Linked DNA regions of Homo sapiens: all the other regions are linked to region 4. Evidence: promoter capture Hi-C in 16 types of primary human blood cells and fetal thymus (Javierre and others, 2016). All regions are on one chromosome and are shown on one strand. Each heading gives the region's core, a stretch centred on a gene start or on the middle of the fragment in contact. The rest is flanking DNA. Distances are from core to core; before and after follow the strand shown.

Evidence for each region. Contacts are between HindIII fragments. The CHiCAGO score rates a contact against its expected background, and 5 or more counts as called.
Region 1: a contact is called between a fragment that was not itself captured here and the fragment with the promoter of ZMYM4 in region 4, in 1 of 17 cell types (monocytes). The highest score is 5.1, in monocytes.
Region 2: a fragment that was not itself captured here is called in contact with the fragment with the promoter of ZMYM4 in region 4 in 8 of 17 cell types (fetal thymus, non-activated CD4 T cells, naive B cells and 5 more); the score reaches 8.4 in fetal thymus.
Region 3: a fragment that was not itself captured here is called in contact with the fragment with the promoter of ZMYM4 in region 4 in 3 of 17 cell types (fetal thymus, naive CD8 T cells and naive B cells); the score reaches 7.9 in fetal thymus.

What each region holds. Positions count from the first base shown.
Region 1 is chr1:35,547,858-35,550,809 of GRCh38, reverse strand. All of the region lies in intron 2 of KIAA0319L (KIAA0319 like), which reads left to right. Among named protein-coding and RNA genes, the nearest start is that of KIAA0319L, 8.1 kb to the left of the region's middle. The HindIII fragment of the contact is 1,083 bases long and covers 1,013-2,095 here.
Region 2 is chr1:34,980,555-34,983,518 of GRCh38, reverse strand. TMEM35B (transmembrane protein 35B) reads left to right here. Exons shown (of 3, transcript NM_001195156.2): 3 at 1,400-2,139. The coding sequence ends at 1,575. Among named protein-coding and RNA genes, the nearest start is that of TMEM35B, 3.3 kb to the left of the region's middle. The HindIII fragment of the contact is 4,855 bases long and covers 1-2,964 here.
Region 3 is chr1:34,874,163-34,877,348 of GRCh38, reverse strand. All of the region lies in intron 8 of DLGAP3 (DLG associated protein 3), which reads left to right. Among named protein-coding and RNA genes, the nearest start is that of SMIM12, 16 kb to the right of the region's middle. The HindIII fragment of the contact is 868 bases long and covers 1,315-2,182 here.
Region 4 is chr1:35,267,150-35,270,348 of GRCh38, reverse strand. It overlaps ZMYM4 (zinc finger MYM-type containing 4), which reads right to left and starts at 1,640. Exons shown (of 30, transcript NM_005095.3): 1 at 1,264-1,640. The coding sequence starts at 1,302. RefSeq lists silencers at 1,121-1,250, 1,321-1,680 and enhancers at 1,811-1,870, 1,891-1,950. The HindIII fragment of the contact is 2,104 bases long and covers 26-2,129 here.

The DNA.
Region 1 (2,952 bases), core at 305-2,804, 280 kb before region 4:
GATTGCTTGAGCCTAGGGGTTTGAGACCAGCCGGCAACATAGTGAGGCCCTGTCTCTTTAGAATTAAAAAATGTTTAATAATTTAAAAAAAAAGTACACGGGAAAATGCTCCTAATATTAAATGATAAAATCAAGTTATGCAACTACATATTCAATATGCTGTCAATTTTGTGAAAAGAAGAAAAAATTATGTAATAGAAAACAGTCTGAAACAAGATGTACAACTAAATATTTATGTATTTTTTTGACTAGAGGAATTATTATCTCTTCATATTTTTCTGTGTTTTCCAGGCCTTTCTTTGGTATACTTGTATTCCTTTTTATATAAGGGGGAAAACAACCTACTTGAAAAAGCAACAACAAAATAATAACAGCAAAAACCTATTGGTGGGAGCCTGAGTCAGTATTTCTCTACTCATGAGTTTACTCAGTGTTTACCTGAGTGTTTACATTTTTTTCCGATAAAATACATTCTTGATTCCTGCTGTTATTTAGCTCATGGATTATTTCTGAAAAACTAACCAAATTAAGGCAGCTCTGCAGTTATCCTCCACTCCCGCTTACCACTTAGGAGTTTGCTCCATCTTTGGTAGAGCCCCAGGCAGCTGTTGACTTAGACATGGTGAGCTTTTTTATTTCCACTTTTGGGTTCAGTACTGAAGCCCTACTGTTAGAAAGCATTGATTACAATTTGATAAAAGATGGTCTGTCTGTGTTTTCCTTGTGTGCCATGGAATGGCTATTTTTCTGTTTAATTTTATTGTTAAGTGGCTTGAAAAATAGTGTTTTGGACCTGGGGATTCTCATCTGGAGACAAATAGGAAGTGATCCCAGGAGTTTTGGAAATTCCTACAATAGATTGTCAGCTTCTTGAGAGCAGACATGTTGCCTCTTTTAGTTATGCTAGATATTCTTAGCGGGTACCAAGGCACATAGTAGATGCATAAAATATTTGTTGACTGAATAAATTAATAAATTACCAATAAGGGAATTGTTCTTTGAGAATTAAGCTTTAAAAACAACAAAATCAGAGCAGAGATATGGAAAGGCACTTTAAGGAGACCAATGCTTTTGAGACCAACAAGATTGACTAAAATCTTAACAAATATATTAACACATACAAAGAAAGAATGTATACATCTGAAGAGTTATGTGTGCATGTTTGTGGGGGATGCAAGGACCTAATTGGCCCTAGAAATCTGAAACAGGGAGAATCACTGAAGCCAATGTCCTTAGGCCCAGAGCTAACAGTTGGCTATGAAAACTTGTACTGACATTTCCCTACCTCTGGGAAGGAGATTATACAGTTAGTTAATACGTATTTTGAGTACAGAGATAAATTATTCAATTCAGAACCATTTTTTGAGAACTTACTAGGAGTCTGCTTCTAGACTAGGCACCAGGATAATAAAGATTAGTACAATACAATCCTTTCTCTGGAATAACTACCAGTAGCAAGTGAAAAGGTAGAGGCCAGGTGCATTGGCTTATCCTAGCACTTTGAGAGGCTGAGGCAGGAGGATCACCCGAGGCCAGGAGTTCAAGACCAGCCTGGACAACATAGTGAAACCTCATCTCTACAAAAATAAAAAAAATTAGCTGGTGGTGGTGGGCACCTGTAGTCCTAGCTACTCGAAAGGCTGAGATGAGAGGATCACCTGAGCCCGGGAGTTCAAGACTGCAGTGAACTGTGATCATGTCGCTGTACTCCAGTGTGGGTGACAGAGGGAGACCCTGTCTCTTAAAAAAAAAAAAAAAAGATGCAACGCACAGAGTGCTACTGGAACCGTAGGAGAAGCATTTAGCTTGGAGGCAAAGAGGGTGCTCTAAGGAGTTCTTTCTAGAGAAGCATCTTCTAGAGAAGCTGATGCCTGAACAGAGTTGTGAAGGTTGAATTTGAAGGATTCAAAGGGTATTCCCATGCAATGGGAATGCAAGAGCAAAGGCACAAAAGTGAAACAGCCTGGTATATAGAAGAAACTCCACAAGCAGTTTAGCACTACTGGAATATAAAGAGCAAAGCTGGTATGGCAGCTCCAGAAGAGGTAGGTGGTGGCTAGGTCACAAAGGATCTTGTATGCTATGCTAAGAAGCTTCAATTTTAAACTTTTTAGGTAGATGGTCTATAAATTTTTTTCATGATGCACTTTAATCCATTGAAAAATTGAGAATGTACCCCTGTATATAAATTTATACATTATAACACGTAATTTTATACTAATGTCTTATATATGTGTAAGAGATGCCAAAAACAAAATGTTAAAGGGATTGACAGAAGCAAATATGAAGAGTTCTAATATTTTCTTTTCATGCCCGAGGGATTTGTCTTGTGCACCTCTTAAGGCAAACACTATAATACTTTAATGCTAGTATTAAATATAAAACTATTAATACTGTATTAAATATACTATAATACTGGTAAATTTCTGAATAATTTTTGCAGGAGTATAGAAAAGTGGTAATTGTGGAGATGGAGATGGATGGAAAAGGGAGGGAGGTCAGGGTTAGAGGTTAGGGTATCCATTAGCATGTTAATGAAATAGTCCAGGAGAAAGTTGATGAGACTCTGTCTTCAAGGAACCTCTCAGTAATTTCATTCAATACAAACAAGTAGAGGTAGTCCTAAAGAGATGGGTAGAATTTAGATGTTCTGTAGTAGAGAGATTAGAGGAAGTTTTTTTTTTTTTTCGAGACAGAGTCACACTCTGTTGCCCAGGCTGGACTGCAGTGGTACGATCTCAGCTCACTGCAACCTCAGCCTCCAGGGTTCAAGCAATTCTCCTACCCCAGCCTCCCGAGTAGCTGGGACTACAGGGGTGCACCACCACACCTGGCTAATTTTTGTATTTTTAGTAGAGATGGGGTTTTGCCATGTTGCCAGTCTGGTGTCAAACTCCTGGCCTTGAGCATTCTACCCACCTTGGCCTCCCAGAGTGCTGGGATTACAGGCGT
Region 2 (2,964 bases), core at 94-2,593, 290 kb after region 4:
CAACCTCCGCCTCCTGGGTTCACACCATTCTCCTGCCTCAGCCTCCCGAGTAGCTGGGACTACAGGCGCCTGCCACAGCGCCCGACTGATTTTTTTGTATTTTTAGTAGAGACAGGGTTTCACCATGTTAGCCAGGATGGTCTCGATCTCCTGAACTCGTGATCTGCCCGCCTTGGCCTCCCAAAGTGCTAGGATTACAGGCTTGAGCCACTATGCCCGGCCTAGCACAGGTACTTTTTAAACTTAATGTGCTAGAACATTATCACATGTTAAGTGTACCTTCTACCTCCTCAATTCTAATGGCTGCATAGTATTGCCTTGTGAAGATATATTGCAAGCTCAGCGCCTCTGCTCCTTCCTCCACACATCCACTCCTAGGATGAGGGGATGGAGGAGCAGCTGCCATTTGATGCATGTGTCTGGCAGATTGGTGTAGAGAGCAGGGAAGCTGGAGAACCTTGAACAGGAAGGCAGAGAATTTCCCTAGGGAGTCCCCCTCAAGTAGCTCTGCCCACAGGAACTGCTGATGTACAAAGACAGCTGTTGCTTCAAAGGCCAGATATCTTCAGGCTCTTCTATATGCCCTGGCATCTGTTACCATTGCTGCCACTGCTACCAGGCTTGCTTCCATCTCTGGAGCTTCTCCCATTTTCAGATCTTTCCCATACCTCCAACCAACAGCCCCTGGGCTAGTCCTTCCCTCCATCTTAATCTTAGTAGATGTAGGATTAAGAAAGGAGAAGGGGCCAGACACGGTGGCTCATGCCTGTAATCCCAGCACTTTGGGAGGCCGAGGCGGGCGGATCACAAGGTCAGGAGTTCAAGACCAGCCTGACCAACATGATGAAACCCCGTCTCTACTAAAAATACAAACATTAGCCGGGCGTGGTGGTGCGCGCCTGTAATCCCAGCTACTCAGGAGGCTGAGGCAGGAGAATCGCTTGAAGCCAGTACCCAGAACCCAGTAGCCCAGCTACTCAGAAGGCTGGCAGGAGATCACGCCATTGCACTCCAGCCTGGGTGACAGAGCAAGCCTCTGCCTCAAAAAAAAAAAAAAAAAAGGAAAGGAGAAGGATCAGGGAGATTTTTTTTTCTAAAATCTATCCACTCTAGCCACTGCCCTATTTGGCTGGGTCATTCCCGTTTCTTTCTTGTCCTCTGAGAGGGGCAACTGTTGCCACTGCTGCTGTTGTTCAAGAGGCTTCTAATTTCCTGGTCCTGCTTTCTCCAGGAGGCTAGAGATGAATGCCGCTAGTTTTGGGAATGTGCGTTAGGAGTGGTGGGGGTGTTTAATGGGAGGGCTTGGGCTGGAGTGGGTCAGCCTAAACTAGAGAGCCCTGAGCTCCTGGATCTCCTGGGTTCTTCCAAGGAGCCTCAGGGACCTCACTTTCCATTCCAGGGGCTATCTTCACCTTGGCAGCTCTGAAAGAGTCACTAAGCACCTGTATCCCAGCCATTGTCTGCCTGGGGTTCCTGCTGCTGCTGAATGTCGGCCAGCTCTTAGCCCAGACTAAGAAGGTGGTCAGACCCACTAGGAAGAAGACTCTAAGTACATTCAAGGAATCCTGGAAGTAGAGCATCTCTGTCTCTTTATGCCATGCAGCTGTCACAGCAGGAACATGGTAGAACACAGAGTCTATCATCTTGTTACCAGTATAATATCCAGGGTCAGCCAGTGTTGAAAGAGACATTTTGTCTACCTGGCACTGCTTTCTCTTTTTAGCTTTACTACTCTTTTGTGAGGAGTACATGTTATGCATATTAACATTCCTCATGTCATATGAAAATACAAAATAAGCAGAAAAGAAATTTAAATCAACCAAAATTCTGATGCCCCAAATAACCACTTTTAATGCCTTGGTGTAAGTATACCTCTGAACTTTTTTCTGTGCCTTTAAACAGATATATATTTTTTTTAAATGAAAATAAAACCATATATCCTATTTTATTTCCTCCTTTTAAAACCTTATAAACTATAACACTGTTTCATGTCTCTTTTGCCTCATTGCTGTTAATGGCTGCATAGTATTCCATTGCAAGGATGTACTATAATGTATTTAATCCCCCATGAGGAACATTTGGGTTATTCTCAATTTTTTGCTCTCGTAAGCCTCACAGTAAATCACTTTTGCATACTTATTTTCTTCCCCTAGAAGTGAGGGTGCTGGTTCAAAACACATGCATGTTTTTAAGGTTTTTAATACATATTTAAAACGTACAGGTTCTGTATGCAGAGCTTAAGTACTTGCTTCTGCCTATGCCCTTTGAGACATATTAGAGATTCCCTCCCACTCCTTTTTTTCTCTGACATATTAGATGTGCAGAGCTAACAGGTAGGCATTGAGTCATTTGACAGGACCTGAAATCAAGCTCTGGTGGTGATCTGTGGCACCCAGTCCAGTGCTCCTTGACACCTACGTGGAGATGAGGGACAGCCAACTCCATGAAATGCTGAATGGTACAGCAGGGCCCAAAGCCTGGGAGGAATCCCAGAGGTCCTTGGGGGTAGGAAGGGTGCATATGTGTGACAGTTCTCAGGGGAAAAGTGGACAACACGTTAGGGCACCTGCTATTATGTCACCACCATCTTTATCTTAGGTTGGCAGGGCTGTGGGCTTTTGGGAAGTGATGTACCTCCCATGAGGGACTATAGTGAGAAACAGTTCACTTATTTATGCAAATATTCTAGCTATCAGCCTACAGATTGCTTTGAGGGTGGAAAAGAAGTCTCTATTACTCCATTTCATGTTCACTACAAAATGCTAATTCCCATTCTGACTAGTGTGAACCTCAGGCAAGGTGACACTCTCAGTTGGATTTTTTTCTTCTGAGTCTGAAAGCATAGTGGTGTAGTCTGCCTATAGTAAGGATAGATAGATTACACTAAATAAATGGTAGTGTCAAAACAATAAGGAAACCTTTTCTCTCATGTAAGAGGTCCAGAGATAACCACTTCAGTTTCAA
Region 3 (3,186 bases), core at 499-2,998, 390 kb after region 4:
GTTCCGATTTCCCAGCATCCTCCTTCCAGGCCACATTCCTGCATCCCTGGCATGAGCGTTTTGAGTCCAAGTTTGCAAATGAAACAGACCTTCTTGGCTGCCGACTTTGCGCACAGGGTCTCTTTCCAGCTCCCCTTGCTGCGCAGGTTTGGGGTCTCTCCTCTCATCCTCCCTCAGCGTTTTCATCCAGCCTCTAGCATATGTCTGGTCTGATCTCCCTGTGGTTCACTTGGCTTAGACCCCCTCTCACTATATGTTCTTTGAATTTCCTTCCTGTTTCTGATACCTGGACATTTCTCATTCCTATTTTCAAACCCAGCATTGTAGCAAAAACACCTTTTTGATTTTTAAAAACCCAGCATTTCTATGCGTTTAGGGTGTGAGTGGGAGCTTCCTAAGTTAATTCAGTCTACTCTATTGATCAGTGGTCTGGGTAAGGCTGATAGCAGTGGATACAGAGAGAAGTGGGCCAATTTGAGCAGCATTTTGGAGTGAAAGTCAGGGAAGGGCAGGGACAGGCAGAGAACGTGGCCTTCCTTGCTCTTGTGTAAGTGCTTGGTGAGGTCTTGATGTGGCGGGCTGAGGAGAGGACATGGTGTTGAATAAGCATCGAAAGAACCAAACTGCCTGGGACAGGTGATCACACTGGGAATTCAGAGGGAGTGACAGGTGGGGAGAGGGGAAATCTGGCCCATCTCTTTGGCCAGGCTCCCTGGCCTGTCTGCTGCAGGCGTCCTTAGTCATACACCTGCACAGTCCTTTCTGTCCCTTATGTCCCTGGCACTTTAAGTCTGACTCCTCACACACCATGCCCCAACTGGTGCATAAAAGCGAGCCATGAATTCCAGCAGCCTCGCCTGGCCAGCATTCAGGCCTGGCCCGCCACACACAGCCCAGCCCCATTTTCTTTGACTCTCTTGTCCTTACTGCTGTCTCGCTCATCCCAGTATCTGTTTCTCTCTCTGTAATTTGGTTTTAAAAATTGCTGAGCAGGAAAGGTCTCTTCTCTTCTGCCTTTCAGGGTGTTCCCTGCTCACCTCTTGGGTGAGGATTTTGGACTTATTGTCCCTTCTGTCTGGGAATTGTCTGTGAGTCCTTCCAGTTGCCCAGTGTCAGTGATGACTTGGCTTAGAATATAAGGGGAGGGGGCTGGCACCCCTTCAGTTCTATCTCCACTGCACACCCCCACCCCCCCGCCAAGATTCATCTGTCCACAGATATTTATTGGATCTGTATTATTTGCCAAACACTGTGCTGGGCACTGAGGATGCAAAGGTGAGCAGAACCAGAGACAGCTCCTGCCCATGCAAAGCTTACCACGAAGTTAATCTAAGAATCTCATTAATGATGTAGCCGCTGTGCCGGCTGCCACAAAGGAGCGGCATGTGAGCCATGACAGTGTAGACTATGGGGCTTTGAGTCTGCCAGAGGGGTCAGGCATGGCTTCCCTGGGAAGTGACATTTGGGTGGAGATCCGAAGGATGAACAAAAATTAACTGAGTGAAAAATGGGAGATAAGGTTCCAGGCAGAAGGAATAGCATATGCTAAGGCCTTGTGGTGAGAGAGAACATACTTAATCAGTTACCAGCCGTGTCTCAACATGTCCTTATGGCACCTGTTTCCCTAGACCCAGCACACTCTGGGCCATGATAAAAGGATGCATCAGATGTCTTGCTGAATATTAGCAAGGGGCCCTCTGAAGTCATAGAAAATGGGATTTTTGCCTCCAACTCTTTCTAACCATAGGGATCTGCCTGTATCTTCCACCTCTAATTCCTCCCAGACAGACCTTATCTTAAATTGTAAATTTAGCAAAAACAAAACCAACAACATCAACAGCAAAACCCACCAAAATAAAGAAACAAAAACCACCAGGATGCCCAGTTAAATTTGATGATCAGATAAATAATGAATGCATTTTAGTATGTCACATGCAATATTTGGGACATACTCATAGTAAAAACATCTGTTATTTATCTGAAATTCAAATTCAACTGGGAGTCCTATATTTTATCTGACAACCCTACTCATACCTGCTTGTGCCCACGAAGGGCCACCTGGAGAACTCTGTGGAGGAAGACCTGCCTACCCTTTCCTTAACATTATGGTCATTTCTAGCTTTGGGAGTTTGGGAAGGGTATGTGCTGAAAGAATGGCCCCTTGAGGCCTGGGAAAGAAGCTTCCATACCCATTAAGTTATATTCCAAGAACAGTCCTGCAAAAGCAATAAGAAGCTGACTGCCCAAAGCCCTGGGCACAGATGCTACCTCCATTCCTGAGCCTGCAAATTTAGGACGGTTTCTGACTGACCCTCATGACTCCTCCTGAATCTCCCACCCTAGCCCCACCTTGGCATCCCTGTCACAGCCCCCAGGCTGGAGTGGTGGGTTCAGTGACCCCTGCTTGATTATATGTTTAGGCTCTTAGATGCCTTCACACAGGAGCTTCTATAGAAGCTAGTTTGAAGGCTATGCCTAGTTGAAATGACACCGTCCTTCCCCCTCCCTGCCCACTCCCCCTCCCACCCTTCCTGCCTGCTGCCAAATACTCCTGGCAAAACCTCTTGACAACTTCTGGATATAGAGCTTTCCTTGGATACTGTGTCTCTTGGGATAATCCAGCTTCTACCCAGAGGCTTTTATGTTATCCCCCAGAGAATCACAGTAGAAACTCTCCCTGAAGTAGAATCGCAGTGGAAACTCTCCCTGAAGTAACCATGATAACAACTTGCATTATCATCAGGAATGTAATCATTGTCACCTTGGAGCACTCAAAGGGAGGAGGCTTCTGCAGCCACATTTAAAGGCTTGGGAGAAAATATTGTGAATGCATTGTTACGCATTAATGACAATTCACAGCTGAAGCCAGTTTTTATCCTGTGCTGACAGCTGTTGGTGGAGACCACAGCAAATACTGCCAAATCCAAAACTAAATAGCGACATAAGCCCTTAACTTCACTATTCTAAAAATTCATCTGTTATAGTTAGGAGTGGGTTTGACTGTGAGTTATAGAAAACCCCCCAAACAACAGTGATTTAAATATGATAGAAGTTTATTTCTCTCTTACTTAGAGGAAATCCAGGGAGAGTTAGTTGAGGTCTGGTAGATGCCCCACAGTGTCAGGACCTGGAGCCTTCTATCTTTTCCTCATCCCCCACCCCACTTAGCACTTCCCTTTGGTCTCA
Region 4 (3,199 bases), core at 391-2,890:
TCTTTGGTCATTTACAATTTAAGCTTTTAAGGAGAGAAACACAGATTAAAGAAACTCCTCTGTGGCATCCCACACAGGCACTATAGTTGGGACAAACCTGGATTCAAATCCTACCTCAACCTTGCAACTAGCTGTGTGATCTAAGTAAATTACTTAAGCCCTCAACACCTAAATTTCCTCATCTGCAAATAGGTTCTAGGAGGAGTTACTATGAAGTTAAATTCTTCACATAAAGGTCTTAGCTCAGTGCCAGGCACACAGTAAGCACTCAAAACATCAGCTGTAGCATCATTACGAGATTACTAATTTTACGCTAAGCTGAAAGGGCATTCTTCATAAAGTAGTAATTTTTTGCCCTTTTGCTAATTGATCGTTTCTGAAACCATTCCCAAAAGGAAGACTCCTAAAAGGAAACTTACTTCTTATCATGCTAAGCGGGGAGGAAGTAAAAGAAAAGTGAGGGATATTGCTCAATCGATAGTACAGTATTGTTCGCCATCTGAAAAAAACCACTCAGAATTAAATAAGGAAAGTTTCCAGACAAACTTTAAAAGGTATTCAAACAACTCCTATGTAGAATTGGCTTCACCTCTGCAGGTTGATTGGGTACATCCCTGTTATGAGAAAACTTGTCGTATTCTTCCAAGTCCCTAATTGCGAGTAAGAGGCTAGGCTAGAACATGACATTCATAGTAGCCAAAATCTTTCTCCTAAATCAGGACATGCCAACGATCCCACTTCTTCACAGGTAAGACCACCACCCCGACTTTGGTCTAGATAACGGCTATGGGGGGAGGGGAAAGGAGGCAGGAAAATGAATTCGCGATGGTGTTACTGAAGAACCCTCCGGTTATTTCTCCTGAGACCCCTCCACGACTTATTCCCGCCACCACCACCCCCACCTGACCTCTCCCCAGTTAACTTCCAGACTCTGATGTACTAAAGATGCACTAAAGATGCACTTAAGAATCTGACACCTCCCCTCCCTGGGCCTAGATATCCCACCCCAGTGCTGGGGAACGTCGGGGGGAGGAAGGCAAACAACGGCCCCCTCCCCTCCCCCCCACCCAGCACCAAATCTTTGTCCCACCTGCCGAGGGACCGCTCGCCAGCGCGCTCCGGACCCAAGGCTGCCTCAGACCTGCCCGCAACCTTGTCCTAACTGGGCCTCGGCGACCCCTCCACGAACCTGAGTATGGCCCATTCCCGGCCCCGGGCCGCGCCCCGCCCCCCGCCGCCCGAGTTCTGCCTCACCTCACCTACCCTCTTTCGGGGGCCGGACTCCACCTCTCTCTCCGCCATGTTGGGCCCCGCTCGGAACCGCTGCGGCTCCCCGCGCGGTGGCGGCGGTACCTCTCGGCCCCCCGGCCCCCGCCCACACTGCAGGCACGGCCGCCTCGCGGCAGCTTCCCCGGACCCGGCCGGGCCTTGCGCCGAGAGTGGGGAGGGGGCGGATGCCGCGCGCCGGGCCGCAGCTTCTGAGATCCCACGGGTCCGCGCGTGGGCGGGAGGGCCTGCCCGGGGACGGGGTGGGGGCCGGGACTCGGGGGGTTAATGGCCTCCAAGGGGCCCCGTGAGTAGGATTATTTTCTCTCAGAGAAATTCCTCCGCCTGCGGTTTCTTAAAGGGATCACCAAATCAGCCCCTTGCGCGCGCCCCTGATGCGCAGGCGCACCCTAAGTCCCTCCTTCCTTTCCCACCAAGCCCCCGGTCCTGAGCGTGCGCGGTAAGTGGCCATGGGTAGGCCAAATCCTGCAAGTCTCTTTGCTGCCAGCAGCTGCTCCCACCACTCAACTATGGCCGCTCCCTTAAAGGGACCATGACGCAGGGATGAAGGAGAAATGAAAGAAATTACTGGAAAGACAATCTGGAGAATTGGGTGCAATGTCAGTGAAGGGTTCCACATCACCATCTTACACCTGACTACAGTGGTACCATTGAAGAGGGAAAGTCATGGTAAGCTGAAGTTCTCAGTGGACCTCTGAACATGAAGAATCCCAAACCAATGAGGGAACAAGACAGTCATCTCAAGGAAAACCAACTTTCCTCCCTTTCGACTGCCTGTTCTGAAGCACAAGGCATAGAATATCAAGAGCCAACTCCTATAACCTCACCTTAAAATCAAAGCTTTTGGTGATTTTGAAGATTGAACCAACAACTGGAAATAATTTCTTCAATAGTAATTTATCCTTAGAACATCAAAATGGAGAAGGATCTTAGGGAACCATTTACTCCAGTGCTCCCAATGATAAAATTGCAGCCTGATCATGGGAAGGAATTTGTCCCAATGTAACTAATGGCTGGTGTGGAGTTGGAATCAAGATTACAGTCTCAGTCCTCCAGGCTGTCTTCAGGCGAGAGATAAATTTGGTTTAATTTGATATCCCTAGAAGATTAAAAATTGAAGTTTCATGGTATTTGGAGAATATCATAATTCTCTTGTGAAGATGTAATGATTTGCAGATGATGGGTGTCCTCATTCACCTCTATTGAAGGAGCTTGACAATCTGCCTTAAAGGATAAGCATCTTATTTCTAAGCAGGAAACCAGGAAGTAGATTTGGGTCTATCTTGTTCCAAAACTGGGTCCTAAGCTGAAAATCGCTGAAAAGAATGAGGGCTTCATTCATTCCTCTTCTGTTCATTCTAGTTCCCACAAGCTTTGGGTGCAGAAAAAATTAAGTTTATAATGATAGTTCAGGGACAGTGGGGAGACATATAGTAAGAAATACAAAGAAGATGCCTCCTGAAGGTCATTTCCCATGACAAGACATATTCAAGTGGGAATGATAACTCCTGAAGTCACAGGATAATGAGATGTAACTTCTGTTTTCTGTTTTATTTAGCACTTGGTAGCTATTCTGAAACAGATGTTTTCTAATCTGTAATATTTTGCTGAAAACTTTTGGTGAAATTGCTGGAAGTTTCCATACTGGCCTTGCTTATGCCTTTAGCACTGTCTTTAATTTCACTCCTCGGTAGGAGAGAAGAAAGAAGGACAAAGAAATATGTTCATTTCAGCCAGAATTTTAAAAACATGTTCCCTTTAGTTCCATGTCCAGGACAAGAAAGAAAAGAGGAGCCAAGAAAAGATAATTCCAGGGAATGTGGCTACATAAAACTTGTAGTGGTTTCCACCTGTTTTATTGGCAGTGGAATACTCCCTTCTAATAAAATCTGGTGGTTTAAAATGTGGAGCT